3 separate regions of the Homo sapiens genome follow, and all the other regions are linked to region 1. Evidence: promoter capture Hi-C in 16 types of primary human blood cells and fetal thymus (Javierre and others, 2016). All regions are on one chromosome and are shown on one strand. The core of a region is centred on a gene start or on the middle of the fragment in contact, and the rest is flanking DNA. Distances in the headings are between cores, read along the strand shown.

Region 1 (3,681 bases), core at 19-2,518:
ATCCAGGTCGGCCATTTCTGTTGACCATAAGAGCTCTTTGCGGAAGAATTCCGACAGGCCTTTGAGGAATTGGTTTTGGAGGCGGCAGTCATCCCAAGACAAGAATTGGGCCAGGAACTGAAAAGCATCTGCATAGCTGCCGAGGGTACAGTGGCCCTGCTTGAGCTTGCGAATGGCCTTTTTAGCCACACGTGGGGGGATGGGGCCACAGAATTCCTTACGGATTTCATCCAGGAAGCGCGGGAAGTTGGCATGCAAGGGGCTTCCTTCCTGGGTGACCGAGATGGCCCAGTCCTTGGCTTCGCCAGTGAAAAAGGAGATCAGAAAGGCCACCCGCTCGGCGCCCCCGGGGAAATGAACCTCATGGTCGGCTATGAAGGTCTCTAGCTGCATCAGGAATTCAGCCAGGTAGACTGGGTCTCCTGAAAAGGGCTCTATCTCAGGCCGCTCCAGCGGTGCCAGAGGGGGTTGCGGGGGCGGTTCCTTTGACGCGGGCGGAGGCAGCGCCGGCGGGGGCGGGATGGGCAGCAGAGGGGGGTCAGCGGGCCCGTCGGGGGTGCTGCGATCCTGGATCACGTTAATCAAAAGATCATCCGAGATACAGTCGGGCTCCGCGCGTGGGGGAGGCCGGCACAAGAAGGGCAGTTCTCCCCCGGGAATGACTTCGATCTCACTGAGCGCGAACTCCAAGTTCTCCTCCGCAAGGACGGGCACTATGGGTACTGGCCAGCGGATGTAGCTGGAGACATTGCCCCGCAAGGAATTAACCTCGGCCAGGGCTCTCCCGAGCTGGAGGCCCAAATTGGCATTCTCCCCGCGAAGGGCATTTAATTCTTCGCGCAGGGCCACATTCGCCATGCGGAGGCTGTTGAGATTTCCTGACGCCTCAGACATCTCGACAAGCCCAGGGGCCCTGGGGCTCCGTGGTGGGGAAAGGGGAACTGGAACTACGGGCGGCCGGAGGAGGCCGAAATGCGGCGGCGGGGCTCGGGAGGGACCGAAGTGCGGCAGCGGGGCACGGGCCAGGCCGGGCCACACCCACCGGGGCGAGCTCGGAGGGCGGCGCTCTGGGCGGAGGGCCCGGCGGCTCGGCCCAGGGCGCGTTACCTCGTCGCCGGGGCCGGAGAGGGCGGGCGGAGGCACGGGGCCCGGAGGCGCCAGGCGGAGGATGCGGGCGACACGGTGGCGGCGGCGACCGCGCGACCGGGCGGGCGGGCGGGCAGGGGCGAGCGGAGCGGGAGGGAGCGGACTGCGGCAGGATCTGTCGAGGAAAAATCTTGCGGCCGGCGATTCCCCGCCTTTTAAGCGCAGCCTCGCACTCCCCCCACCCCACGCAGGGGCGGGCCTTGGGGAACCGCGGGCGCCCACTGGCCGCCGCGCGCCGCTCCCCTCCAGCTCGCCTGCGCCTCTCACTGACTCTCTCCTTCCCTAGCTGCAGCTAACTCGGGTCGGGAAAATGCGACAGCGACTGCCCACTCGAGGTCGTCATGGCGACAGCCAGTGAACGTGTTCCTCTCCTCGGGCAGGCCCCCGAGTGTAGAGGAGCTGCTTCGGGAGGCGCAGCTCAATCTCCAGAGCCTGTTGCAAGGTACCGAGAGGGAGGGGGGCTGCGGCCGGAGCCCAGAAGCGAGATGCGCAGCGGCAGGAGGGAGGCAAAGAAGAAAGAGGACAGGGACCAGCAAGATAAAGACAGAGAGTTTAAAAACAATCGACAAAGCAGTTTCCAGCTTTCACCTTTCAGCCTAATGATTCTGAAAGAGGCTATTTCCAGGGCTGTTTCCCCCCATCCCCAGCCCCTTTTTTCAGCTCAGTAGCCCATGGGGAAACAAGGACAGAGACTGAGGCAGGGCCATAAGTTATGCCATTCACCGAGAGCTGGGTGGGAGACTCCCACAATGTGGGCCTACATTCCCTCCAGCCCCCCTCTTGCCACATCGCCCATGCCTTTGGGATCCTGGCACCAGAAGACAAAGGGGGCATCTGCAGGATCTCCCACTCTGGGCTTCACTCACTCTGCTCTTGCAATAACCCCTGGATAGCTACTGCCTCACCAAAGTAAGCCCAATACACAGCACCCAGAGGTCACCTATTTTGTCCCCCCTAACCAAGCCTGAGCTTCTCGATGTAAAGAATCACATCTTGCTACCCTTAGGTTTCCAGAAGCACCTGGCACAAGGCTGGATTCCCTCCCCACCTGCCAAGAGGTGCTCAGTGGATGTTGAGCATGAAAAGAGGTCTTGTCAGCACTCCTTTATCTATACTAATAAAGGTTAACTCTAATGGCGAATAGAAAACTGCTGATGGGCCACCAACAGGATGACAGCCATAACCCCCACCCCCTACCAGGGCAGTGGTGACCTTGGAAAAGCAAGATGCCAAGGGACACCATGAGCCTTGTGTTCAGATAACAAAGGACTTGCCACACAGAAAAAGAGTCGATGTGCTCTGTGTTGCTACCATGGCAGAATTAGGACCAGTGGGTGGAAACCCAGAAGGAGGCACATTCCACCTCCAGATAAGGAAGAACTTTCTGACACACCTGACAGCCCCAACTGTCCGTGGAAGAAATGAGCTGCCTTGGGAGGGAGGGAGCTCCCCTTCCCTGCAGGTGTGTGCGCTGAGGCTGAAGAAACACCTAGAAGGGCTGCTGAGGAGGGAGTCTGGGCACAGAATGAGGCGTTGGACCAAAGAACCCCAAGAGCAACCCCAAATCTCTGTGATTCTGAGTCTTTGTTCAGTGTACATACAGCATGAATGTCCCTTCTCTACTCTCACTTTCTTCATGTATTCTCATCAAATTCATCACTTCAATCAACCCTATTCAAATCTTGTGCATCCTTACTCACTGATGATGCCGCTGAACTTCTGCCTCTTTTATGCTGTTACCTCCTCCTTCCCTCTCCTTCACCTTAGCCCTCCTAGACCTGACATCACTTACAGCGGGACTAAGGTGCAGGGAACACGGCCCACAAAGGCTCAAGTAAAAGTTCTTGACATCCAAGAAAGAACTCCAGATTGGACTTCCTGGTGTAAATCTCTTCTTGCTTCACACAGGTCATTTCCTTGGTAGGGTCGCAGAAAACCTTAAGAGCTGCAGGGCTTCAAAGAGAGGAACTTGCAGTCCAAAGTAGCAAAAGGTGTCTGCATTCTGAGCCTCTTTTCGTAACTGAGCACTCAAGGTGGGGATCATTGAGATAAGGGCTTGGTCCCCAAACCACCACAGCATGAATTTATTGACTTTCTCTTCTCCTCGATCCTCATGGTCCTGGGAAGCAAGCACTTTTCCATTTCCAAATCCAGTGGCTCAAACACCTGGAAATAGCCTAAAGAAAATGCAAGTCAGGCCTGGCAGCTAGAGCAGGAGTCCTGGCTCATGGCCCTTCCCCGGCCCAGCGCTCGGCCATGGCACCCTAGAGTGTGTGTCTCCACTGTGCTATTTTTCAGAAGAATATGAGGAACAGTACTCGGAGGCCAGACTTGTGGGGCAGACCTTCCGCTCTTCTGATGAGGCCACTAAGCCCACCCCCAACCCAAGGCCCCAGTCTGCCAGGCGTCTGGAGTTTATATTGATGGTGAGTTGCCTCATCCCCCACCTGGGAGAGCCAGCATGCACCCACTGACAAGAGACCTCCAGCTGCTTACTTTACCCACTGGAAGCTGCTCAGCCCTGCTCACCAGCAG
Region 2 (4,707 bases), core at 993-3,492, 55 kb after region 1:
CCCGGGGCAGGTAGCTTGGAGTAGAGAGCATGACATTCGGGAAAGAGACCTAGAACTGAGATTCCCCAAGATAGATGGTGAGGTCACTCAAGGTAATGGCAGGAGTGAGGGTGGAGAGGAAGCCCAAAGCTGATGCCAGAGTCGTCAGGAAATCAAAGGCAGTGAGGTGGCAGTCAGAAGATGACAGCATCCAGCAGGGAAGAGGATGGGATAACTGGAAGGCATCATCATTCAAGAATGGATCTATAGCAAACCCAGTTAGGAGTTTGATTTAATAACACTCCTTTGGCAGTAACATTTTTTTAGGGTTTTGGTAGTCAGTATTTGGGGTTTTCAGTTTAATCAAACATTTATTAAAACACCTTTTGTGTGCCAGGCATTGTGCTAGGCTTGGAGATACTAAGACAAGCAAGATGGAGACTCTTGCTTAAAACTTTTCAATGGCGGCCAGGCGCGGTGGCTCACGCCTGTAATCCCAGCACTTTGGGAGGCCGAGGCTCGCAGATCACGAGGTCAGGAGATCGAGACCATCCTGGCTAACAGGGTGAAACCCTGTCTCTACTAAAAATACAAAAAAAATTAGCGGGGCGTGGTGGCAGGCGCCTGTAGTCCCAGCTACTCGGGAGGCTGAGGCAGGAGAATGGCATGAACCCGGGAGGCGGAGCTTGCAGTGAGCCGAAATCGCGCCACTGCACTCCAGCCTGGGCGACAGACAGAGCGAGACTCCGTCTCAAAAAAAAAAAAAAAAAAACAACTTTTCAATGGCTCCCTATTACGTCTAGGATAAGTCCCAAGCTCCTTAATGGGGCCAAAAGGCCTCAATGCCCTGACCCTCAGCTACCTCCCTCAGGCAGGCTCATCTGAGTGCACTCCCACCTCAGATTTGGCTTCATCCATACAATTTCTTACACATACCATGTCGTTTCCCCCATTCTGGAGTGTCTCCTCATCCTTTCTTTGGCTAACCAGCTCCTACTCATCCAGGAAACCTTCCCTGGCTGGCTCCAGTGTCCCTCTGTGCTTCCACAGCCCCCTGTCCATAACCATCTCTGCATCTCCTGCATTCTCCTGAAATGATCCGTCTTCCTCACTAGAATATGAGTTTTCTGAAGGAAGGTACATGGCTTGTTCATCTTTGTACTCCCAGTGCCTGGAACTCAGTAGTTGTATAGGAAATGTTTATTGAACTGAGCCCTTAATTCAACTGTAATTCTTAGGAACATCAGCCTCTAGCAGTATGTAGGCTGCCATTGACACAGAAGTTACCATAGTAGTAAAATGACATACTAGTAAAATGTAAGATGCTGCTAATGGTTCTAGGAAGACATCAATAGGCAATGTAGTAGACTCTAGAAATTTGGACATGAATGTATTCTTTAGCCAAAAATGGGTAGTGGGAAATTTGATCTTTTTAAAAAATGTATTCTTAGAGATTTTACTTACTGGAATTGTGATGCTTGAACACATAGTTGTGGTACATGATAGAACTCTTACAAGAACTTAGGAGTCTGCCCTCAGAAGGCAGGGTGTTAAATTGGATGCAAAGAATCTGGGCCAGGCTTCCGGAGCTTTCATTCACCTATTAGCACACTCATTTGTGTATCCATTTTCTGTGAAGGGTTTATATAGGGCACAGATTTCCTGTTTGAAGAAAGATGGGTCAGATTAATTTAGCTTGATGTTGTAAAGCAAGCTTGTCCAACCCACGGCCCACGGGCTGCATACGGCCCAGGATGGCTTTGAATGCAGCCCAACACAAATTTGCAAACTTTCTTAAAACATTATGAGATTTTTATTTGTGATTTTTTTTTTTTTTAGCTTGTCAACTATCATTAGTGTTAGCGTATTTTGTGTGGCCCAAGATAATTCTTCCATTGTGGCCCAGGGAAGCTGAAAGGTTGGATACCCTTGTTGTAAAGTGTCTGGCCGAGTTCCCTTTTGAAGTGTGGCGTTATGATGGAAATATCCACTCCGGTTGTGTGTTGGACCTTTCTGTAAACATGGAGGTGCAGTTTAAATGAGTACCTGTCATCTCTTCTCTAAAGGGGGAGCAGCCTCTGGGAGTGACAGTGCTGACAAGAAGGCTCAAGGTCCCAAAGGTGGTGGCAATGCAGTAAAGGTGAGTTACTGGTTCCTTTTTTTCCATGTTAAATATAAATTCTGTTTATGTGTTAGTACACATAAAAGACAGAATGCTTAACTCATTCTAACAGGCTAGCCTAACACTGGTATAAAATCAAAATAACACAAAATTGTAGCTGGGCGCACCTGTAATCCCAGCACTTTGGGAGGCCAAGGCAGGCAGATCAGCCTGGCCAAAATGGTGAAACCCTGTCTCTACTAAAAATACAAAAATTTGCCTGGTGTGGTGGTGTACACTTGTAATCCTAGCTACTTGGGAGGCTGAGGCACGAGAATCAAGAATCGCTTGAACCAGGAGGCTGAGGTTGCAATGAGCTGAGATTGCACCACTGCACTCCAGCCTGGGCAACAGAGTAAGATTCCATCTCAAAAAAATAAATAAATAAAAATAAATTTTAAAAAAATGGAAAATATAGACCAGTCTTGCTTATGAAAAGTAATTCCCTTTAAATATTTTGTCATGTACTTTCTCAGATACCCAGAATTTCTTTATAGTTTTTTAGTATTGTTCCTTAAAATGCATTAAGTTAGATCTTCCCAGTAATTGAGTTATTTCTTAGGACAAAATAATATTTTATAAAACCAAGAGATTAGATAAGTGTTAAAAGTCCTCTGCTGAATAAACAGGCAAGGGTGCAGGTCTCTTTAGAAAGCTTCCCCACTGGTGAGCCACAAACCAGGGTCTTGACCATGAAAATGGGGGCAGGAGAAAATCAGCAAATAATTACTTGAAATACTTAACCTAGCCCCAGAGGAGTATCTGCTGGGAGAAAATTTAATCTGCAAACTAGTAAGTGCTATGTAACAAGGCAATTTCCATGTTTTAGTCAGGATATGGGAGGCTGTACTTTGATTCATTCATTCAGTAAGGACTTAGTGACATCTGCCCTGTGCCAAGCAATGTATTAGGCTCTGGGGATTTTTTATCATGTATTTATTTAATAAAAAAGTAAGAGATGGGCCAGGCACAATGGTTCATTCCTGTAATCCCAGCACTTTGGGAGGCCAAGGCACGAGGATCACTTGAGCCCAGGAGTTTGAGACCAGCCTGGGCAATATAGCAAGACCCTGTCACTAAAAAAGTAAAAATAAAAAATCAGCCAGACGTGGTGGTGCACAACTGTGGCCCTAGCTACTCAGGAGGCTGAGGTGGGAGGATCGCTTGAGCCCGAGAATTTGAGGCTACAGTGAGCCATGATTGTGCCACTACACTCATCCTATGCAACAGAGCGAGACCCTGTCTCAAAAAAATAAATAAAAAGTAAGAGATGGTCCTTGTTATCACAGGCTACTTGGGAGCAGTTAGGTAAAGATATGTATTTCATTGCTGTATGATAAGCATAGCAGTGGAACTGCATCATATAAATTCAGCCATACATGTGTAGCCTAAAAAAGAGAGATCATGTAAATGGTGTGGACTGTTCTGCCCACTCTTCTATTCAATGAACCTATGCCCCACAGAGAGAGAGAGAGATGAGAGACATGCACCTGCTTTTCTATAGTTGCCCTGAATTCTTGTGTGAGCATCCAATCATGTGAAGTGGGGTTCTGGTATCCAAAGATAAGTTTTCATAAAACATAGCCCCTAAATACAACCCAGTTACTTCATGTTACAAACGGAGTACAGCGTTCCTGGCTATGTCTGGGCTTAAATGAGAGCTGACATGCTGGTCTCCCATATGACATCTTCATAAAGGGATATTCTAGGGTAATTTTGGCTATATGCAGTTTTCACCTAATATGTTTTCACAAGCATCTAACCTAAGAGACTGTTGCACTGCATATGGCTTTAGCTACTTTTTTTTATTTTTTTTTTTGAGACGGAGTTTCACTCTTGTTGTCCAGGCTGGAGTGCAATGGCACGATCTCGGCTCACTGCGACCTCCGCCTCCCAGGTTCAAGCGATTGTCCTGCCTCAGCCTCCCAAGTATCTGGGATCACAGGTGCCCGCCACCGCGCCCAGCTAGTTTTTTGTATTTTTAGTAGAGATGAGGTTTCACCATGTTGGCCAGGCTGGTCTTGAACTCCTGACCTCAGGTGATCCATCTGCCTCGGCCTCCCAAAGTGCTGGGATTACAGGCATGAGCCACCGTGCCTGGCGGCTTTAGCTAATTTTTTAAAAACTTTGTTTTGTTGTTTTTATCTTTGTAGAGATGGAGTCTCGCTATGTTGCCCAGGCTGGTCTTGAACTCCTGGCCTCAAGCGATCCTCCCGCCTCAGCCTCCAACAGTGTTAAGATTATAGGGGCATGAGCCACCACACCTGGTGCATGTGGCTTTAAAGAGGCACCTTACCCTCTCTGGAAAAAAAATAAGTTCAATGTGGCCACTCATGAGATATATGGAAAGGAGTGGCACGTTATTCACTAGGAAAGTAGATTAGGGTTAAATTTGTTTTTATAAAGCCTTTTATTTTGAGATAATTATAGATTCACATGCAGTTTTAAGAAATAATACATCTAGCTGGGCATGGTCGTGTGTGCCTGTAGTCCCAGCTACTTGGGAGGCTGAGGTAGGAGGATTGTTTGAGCCCAGGAGTTTGAGGCGGCAGTGAGTCAGGATCACG
Region 3 (4,707 bases), core at 1,452-3,951, 38 kb after region 1:
CGGATTGTATCAATGTTAATTTCTTGTTTGTGATACTGTACTATTGTTTTGCAAGTTTCATTGAGTGAAACTAGACAAGGGGTACACATGGACTCATAATTTCTAACAACTGCATGTGAATCTACAATTATCTTAAACGGCATTTTTTTTGTTTTTATTTTAAAAGTAGAGGTGGGGGGGTTCCACTATGTTGCCCAGGCTGGTCTCGAACTCCTGACCTCAAGTGATCCACCTGCCTCAGCCTCCCAAAGTGCTGGCATTAAAGACGTGAGCCACTATGCCCACCCAAGACAATGATTATTAAAATGCAATTTGAAAATGGGCAAAGAACATGAAGGGACAGTTCACCAAAGTTATCTACAGATGGAAAATAAACACATGAAAATATGTTCAACATCACTAGCCATTAGAAAATGCAAATTAAGAACGCAATGAGATACTACTACACACCTATTAGAACAACAAAAATTAAAAATAGTGGCAATACCAGTTGGGTGTGGTGGCTCATGCCTGTAATCCCAGCACTTTGGGAGGCCGAGGGGGGCAGATCATGAGGTTAGGAGATCAAGACCATCCTGGCCACCTGGCCATCGAGACATGGTGAAGCCCCGTCTCTACTAAAAATACAAAAATTAGCTGGGCATGGTGGCATGTACCTGTAGTCCCAGCTACTCGGGAGGCTGAGGCAGGAGAATTGCTTGAACCCAGGAGGTGGAGGTTGCAGTGAGTCAAGATCATGCCACTGCACTCCAGCCTGGGCGACAGAGTGAGACTCTGTCTCAAAAAAAAAAAAAAAAAATAGTGACAATACCAAATGCTGGTAAAAATGCAGAGAAATAGTTCACTCACATAATTCTGGTGGAAATGCAAAATGGTACAGCCACTCTGGAAAATAATTTAGCATTTTCTTTAAAAACCAAACATATACTTACCGATTGACCCAGCAATTGCGCTCTTGGTTAATTAGTCCAGTAAAAAAAGTTTATGGGCTGGGTGCGGTGGCTCATGCCTGTAAGCCCAGCCCTTTAGGAGGCCAAGGCTGGTGGATCATTTGAGCTCAGGAGTTCGAGACCAGCTTGGCCAACATGGTGAGACCCCATCTCTACTAAAAATACAAAAATTAGCCAGGCGTGATGGTGTGCTCCTGTAATCCCAGCTACTCGGGAGGCTGAGGTAGGAGAATCGCTTGAACCCAGGAGGTGGAGGATGCAGTGAGCCGAGATTGCACCACTGCACTCTAGCTTGCGCGACGGAGTGAGACTCCATCTCAAAATAAAATAAGTACATAAAATAAAAGTTTATGTCCACACAAAAACCTATACATGAGTGTTCACAGCACTCTAATTTGCAATAGCCAAAAACTGGAAATAACCAAACTGTCCCTTAATAGGTGAGTGGCTAAACAAAGCGTGGTACATCCAAACCACGGAATACTACAGAATGAAATATTAATATGTGAAACAACTTGGACAGATCTCAAAGGAACCATGGTGAGTGAAAAAGGGCAATCTCAAAAGGTAACATACTGCATAATTCCATTTATGTAACATTCTTAAAGTGACAAAATTATAAAGATGGAGAACAGATTAGTTATTTCTAGGGTTTAGAGATGAAGATGATGGGATAGTTGTGTTACTGGTGGAGGGTGTCCAGGTTCTTGGCATTTTGAACAAAGAATTGGACAAAACACACAAAGCAAGAAAAGAATAAAGCAACAAAAGCAGAAATTTATTGAAAATGAAAGTACACTCCACAGTGTGGGAGCAGGCCCCGAGCACAGGGGCTCAAGAGCCCAGTTACAGAATCTTCTGGGGTCCAAGTACCCCCTAGAGGTTTCCCATTGGCCACTTGGTGTTCACTCCATGCAAATGAAGTAAGTACGCAATCAGAGGCTAAAGTGAAATTACAAAGTTGCACTCCTATACAAAAGAAGACTTGGCCCACAATCAGTCTGATTGGTTGCAGAAAGCAACAATCAGAGGCTGAAGTGAAGTTACAAAGTCACACTCCTATGCAAACATCTGATTGGTTGCAGAAAGCAACCAATTAGAGATACTTTCAATTTTCCATCTGCCGCGCAGAAAAGGGGCACGTTGCAAAGGAAGTAGCTTCTGGTCCTTTTGTTACTTAGGTGTAGAAAGTTGGGGTTTTCCTTTTGATTTAGTTCTAGGAAGTCAGCGTGAATTGGTCTTAGATTCCCTGCCTCCAGACCCTTTTCTCCTGCCTCAGTTTTGTATCTTGATGGTAGTTCCATGGACCTACACGGGGCATCAAATGACATAAAACCATACACACATATTATGTCAGTGCCAATTTCCTGGTTTTGATATTGTACTATAGTTACATGAAATGTAACCATTTGGGGGAACTGGGTGAAAGATACCCAGAACCTCTCTGTAGTATTTTATAACTTCCTGTTAATCTATAATTCTTTTAAAATAAGAATGTTTAAAATGAAAAAGATAATTGACTATTTAAAGCAAAAATAATTACAATATATTGTGAGGTTTATGACGTAGATAAGTAAAATATATAACAACAATAACACAAAGGTCAGAGGAGGGAAATGGAAGTATACCTTTGTAAGGTTCCTATGCTGTAGGTGAAGTGGTATATCATTTGAATGTATAATATGAAAAGTTAAACATTAATTAATTAATTGATTGATTGATTGATTTTTGAGATGGAGTCTCGCTCTGTCTCCCAGGCTGGAGTGCAATGGTGTGATCTTAGCTCACTGCAACCTCCGCCTCCTGGGTTCCAGCAATTCTCCCACCTCAGCCTCCTGAGTAGCTGGGATTACAGGCACGCATCACCACGCCCGGCTAATTTTTTGTATTTTTAGTAGAGACAGGGTTTCACCATGTTGGCCAGGCTGGTCTTGAACTCCTGACCTCAAGTGATCTGCCTGCCTCAGCCTCCAAAAGGGCTGAGATTACAGGCATGAGCCACTGCGCCTAGCCAAGTTAAAGATTTATAATATAAACCCTAAAGCAACCTCTAAAATAATAGAACAAAAAGTTATAGATAATAGCCAACAATGGAGATAAAAATGAGTCATAAAAATACTTGGCCAGGCATGGTGGCTTACACTTGTAATCCCAGCACTTAGGGAGGCCAAGTCGTGATGATTGCTTGAGGCCAGGAGTTTGAGACCAGCCTGGGCAACATAGAAAGACCTCATCTCTACAAAACATTTAAAAATTAGCAGGGGGTGGTGGTATGTGCCTGTAGTCCCAGCTACTCAGGAGGGTGAGGTGGGAGGATCCCTTGAGCCCAGGAGTTTGAGGCTGCAGTGAGCTATGATTTCACAACTGCATTCCAACCTGGGTGATAGAGCAAGATCCCATCTCTTTATATTAAAAAAAAAAAAAGAAGAAGAAGGAAGAAAGAAACTCAATCTGAAAGAGGGCAAAGAAAGAGGAAAATGGAACAAAGAACAGATGGAACAAAGAGAAACCATATAGAAATCTAACCATATCAATAATCACATTAAATGCAAAGCATCTAAACACTCCCATTCCAAAGGGAAAGACTGTCATATTAAGTAGAAAAAGCACAGAGGGCAGGGCACAGTGGCTTATGCCTATAATCCCAGCACTTTGGGAGGCCAAGGTGGGAGGATCATTTGAGCCCAGGAGTTCGAGATCAGCCTGGGCAACACAGCAAGACCCCATCTCTACAAAAAATGTTTAAAAAATTAGCCAGGTGTAGTGGCGCATGCCTGTAGTCCTAGATACTTGAGACGCTGAGGCCAGAGGATCACCTGATCCCAGGAGTTCAAGGCTGTAGTGAGCTGTGATCACACCACTGCATCCAGCCTGGGTGACAGAGTGAGACTCTGTTTCTTAAAAAAAAAAAAGTTAAAAAATAAAAAATAAAAAAAAATTTTTTTTAAAAGGAAAAGCACAGGACTCAACTATATGCTCCCTGAAAAAAAAAGCCCTCACTTTGGTATAATGACACAAACAGGTTAAAAGTAAAAAGATAGAAAAATATTTACCATGCTAACATGAATCAAAAGAAAGCTGGGGCTGGGTGGCAGTGGCTCATGCCTGTAATTTCAGCACTTTGGGAAGCCAAGGCAGGTGGATCACTTGAGCTCAAGAGTTTGAAACCAGCCTAGGCAACGTGGTGAAATACCATCTCTACCAAAAATGCAAAAAAAAAAAAAATATATATATATATCCTGGCGTATATATATATATATATATATCCTGGCATATATATATATATATCCTGGCATATACATACATATATATCCTGGCATATATATATATATATATATATATATATATATATATATATATCCTGGCATATATACATATATCCTGGCATATATATATATATATATATATCCTGGCATATATACATATATCCTGGCATATATATATATATATATATATATATATATATATATATCCTGGCATATATACATATATCCTGGCATATATATATATATATATATATATATATCCTGGCATATATATATATATATATATATCCTGGCATATATATATATATATATATATATATATATATATCCTGGCATATATATATATATATATATATATATATATATATATACCCTGGCATATATATATATATATCCTGGCATAGTGGCATGCACCTGTAGCCCCAGTTACTCAGGAGGCTGAGGTGGGAGGATAGCTTGAGCCCAGGAGACAGAGGTTGCAATAAGCTGTG

What was found. Contacts are between HindIII fragments. The CHiCAGO score rates a contact against its expected background, and 5 or more counts as called.
Region 2: a fragment that was not itself captured here is called in contact with the fragment with the promoter of RTL5 in region 1 in 1 of 17 cell types (neutrophils); the score reaches 5.5 in neutrophils.
Region 3: a fragment that was not itself captured here is called in contact with the fragment with the promoter of RTL5 in region 1 in 1 of 17 cell types (neutrophils); the score reaches 5.9 in neutrophils.

The regions. Positions count from the first base shown.
Region 1 is chrX:72,130,647-72,134,327 of GRCh38, forward strand. RTL5 (retrotransposon Gag like 5) reads right to left here and starts at 1,269. Exons shown (of 1, transcript NM_001405151.1): 1 at 1-1,269. The coding sequence starts at 894. NHSL2 (NHS like 2) reads left to right here. Exons shown (of 8, transcript NM_001013627.3): 2 at 1,433-1,588; 3 at 3,445-3,572. RefSeq lists silencers at 1,060-1,129, 1,290-1,349. The HindIII fragment of the contact is 11,603 bases long and covers 1-3,681 here.
Region 2 is chrX:72,184,416-72,189,122 of GRCh38, forward strand. It overlaps PIN4 (peptidylprolyl cis/trans isomerase, NIMA-interacting 4), which reads left to right. Exons shown (of 4, transcript NM_006223.4): 2 at 2,046-2,119. Among named protein-coding and RNA genes, the nearest start is that of PIN4, 5.0 kb to the left of the region's middle. The HindIII fragment of the contact is 1,102 bases long and covers 1,692-2,793 here.
Region 3 is chrX:72,167,228-72,171,934 of GRCh38, forward strand. No RefSeq gene overlaps it. Among named protein-coding and RNA genes, the nearest start is that of PIN4, 12 kb to the right of the region's middle. The HindIII fragment of the contact is 8,980 bases long and covers 1-4,707 here.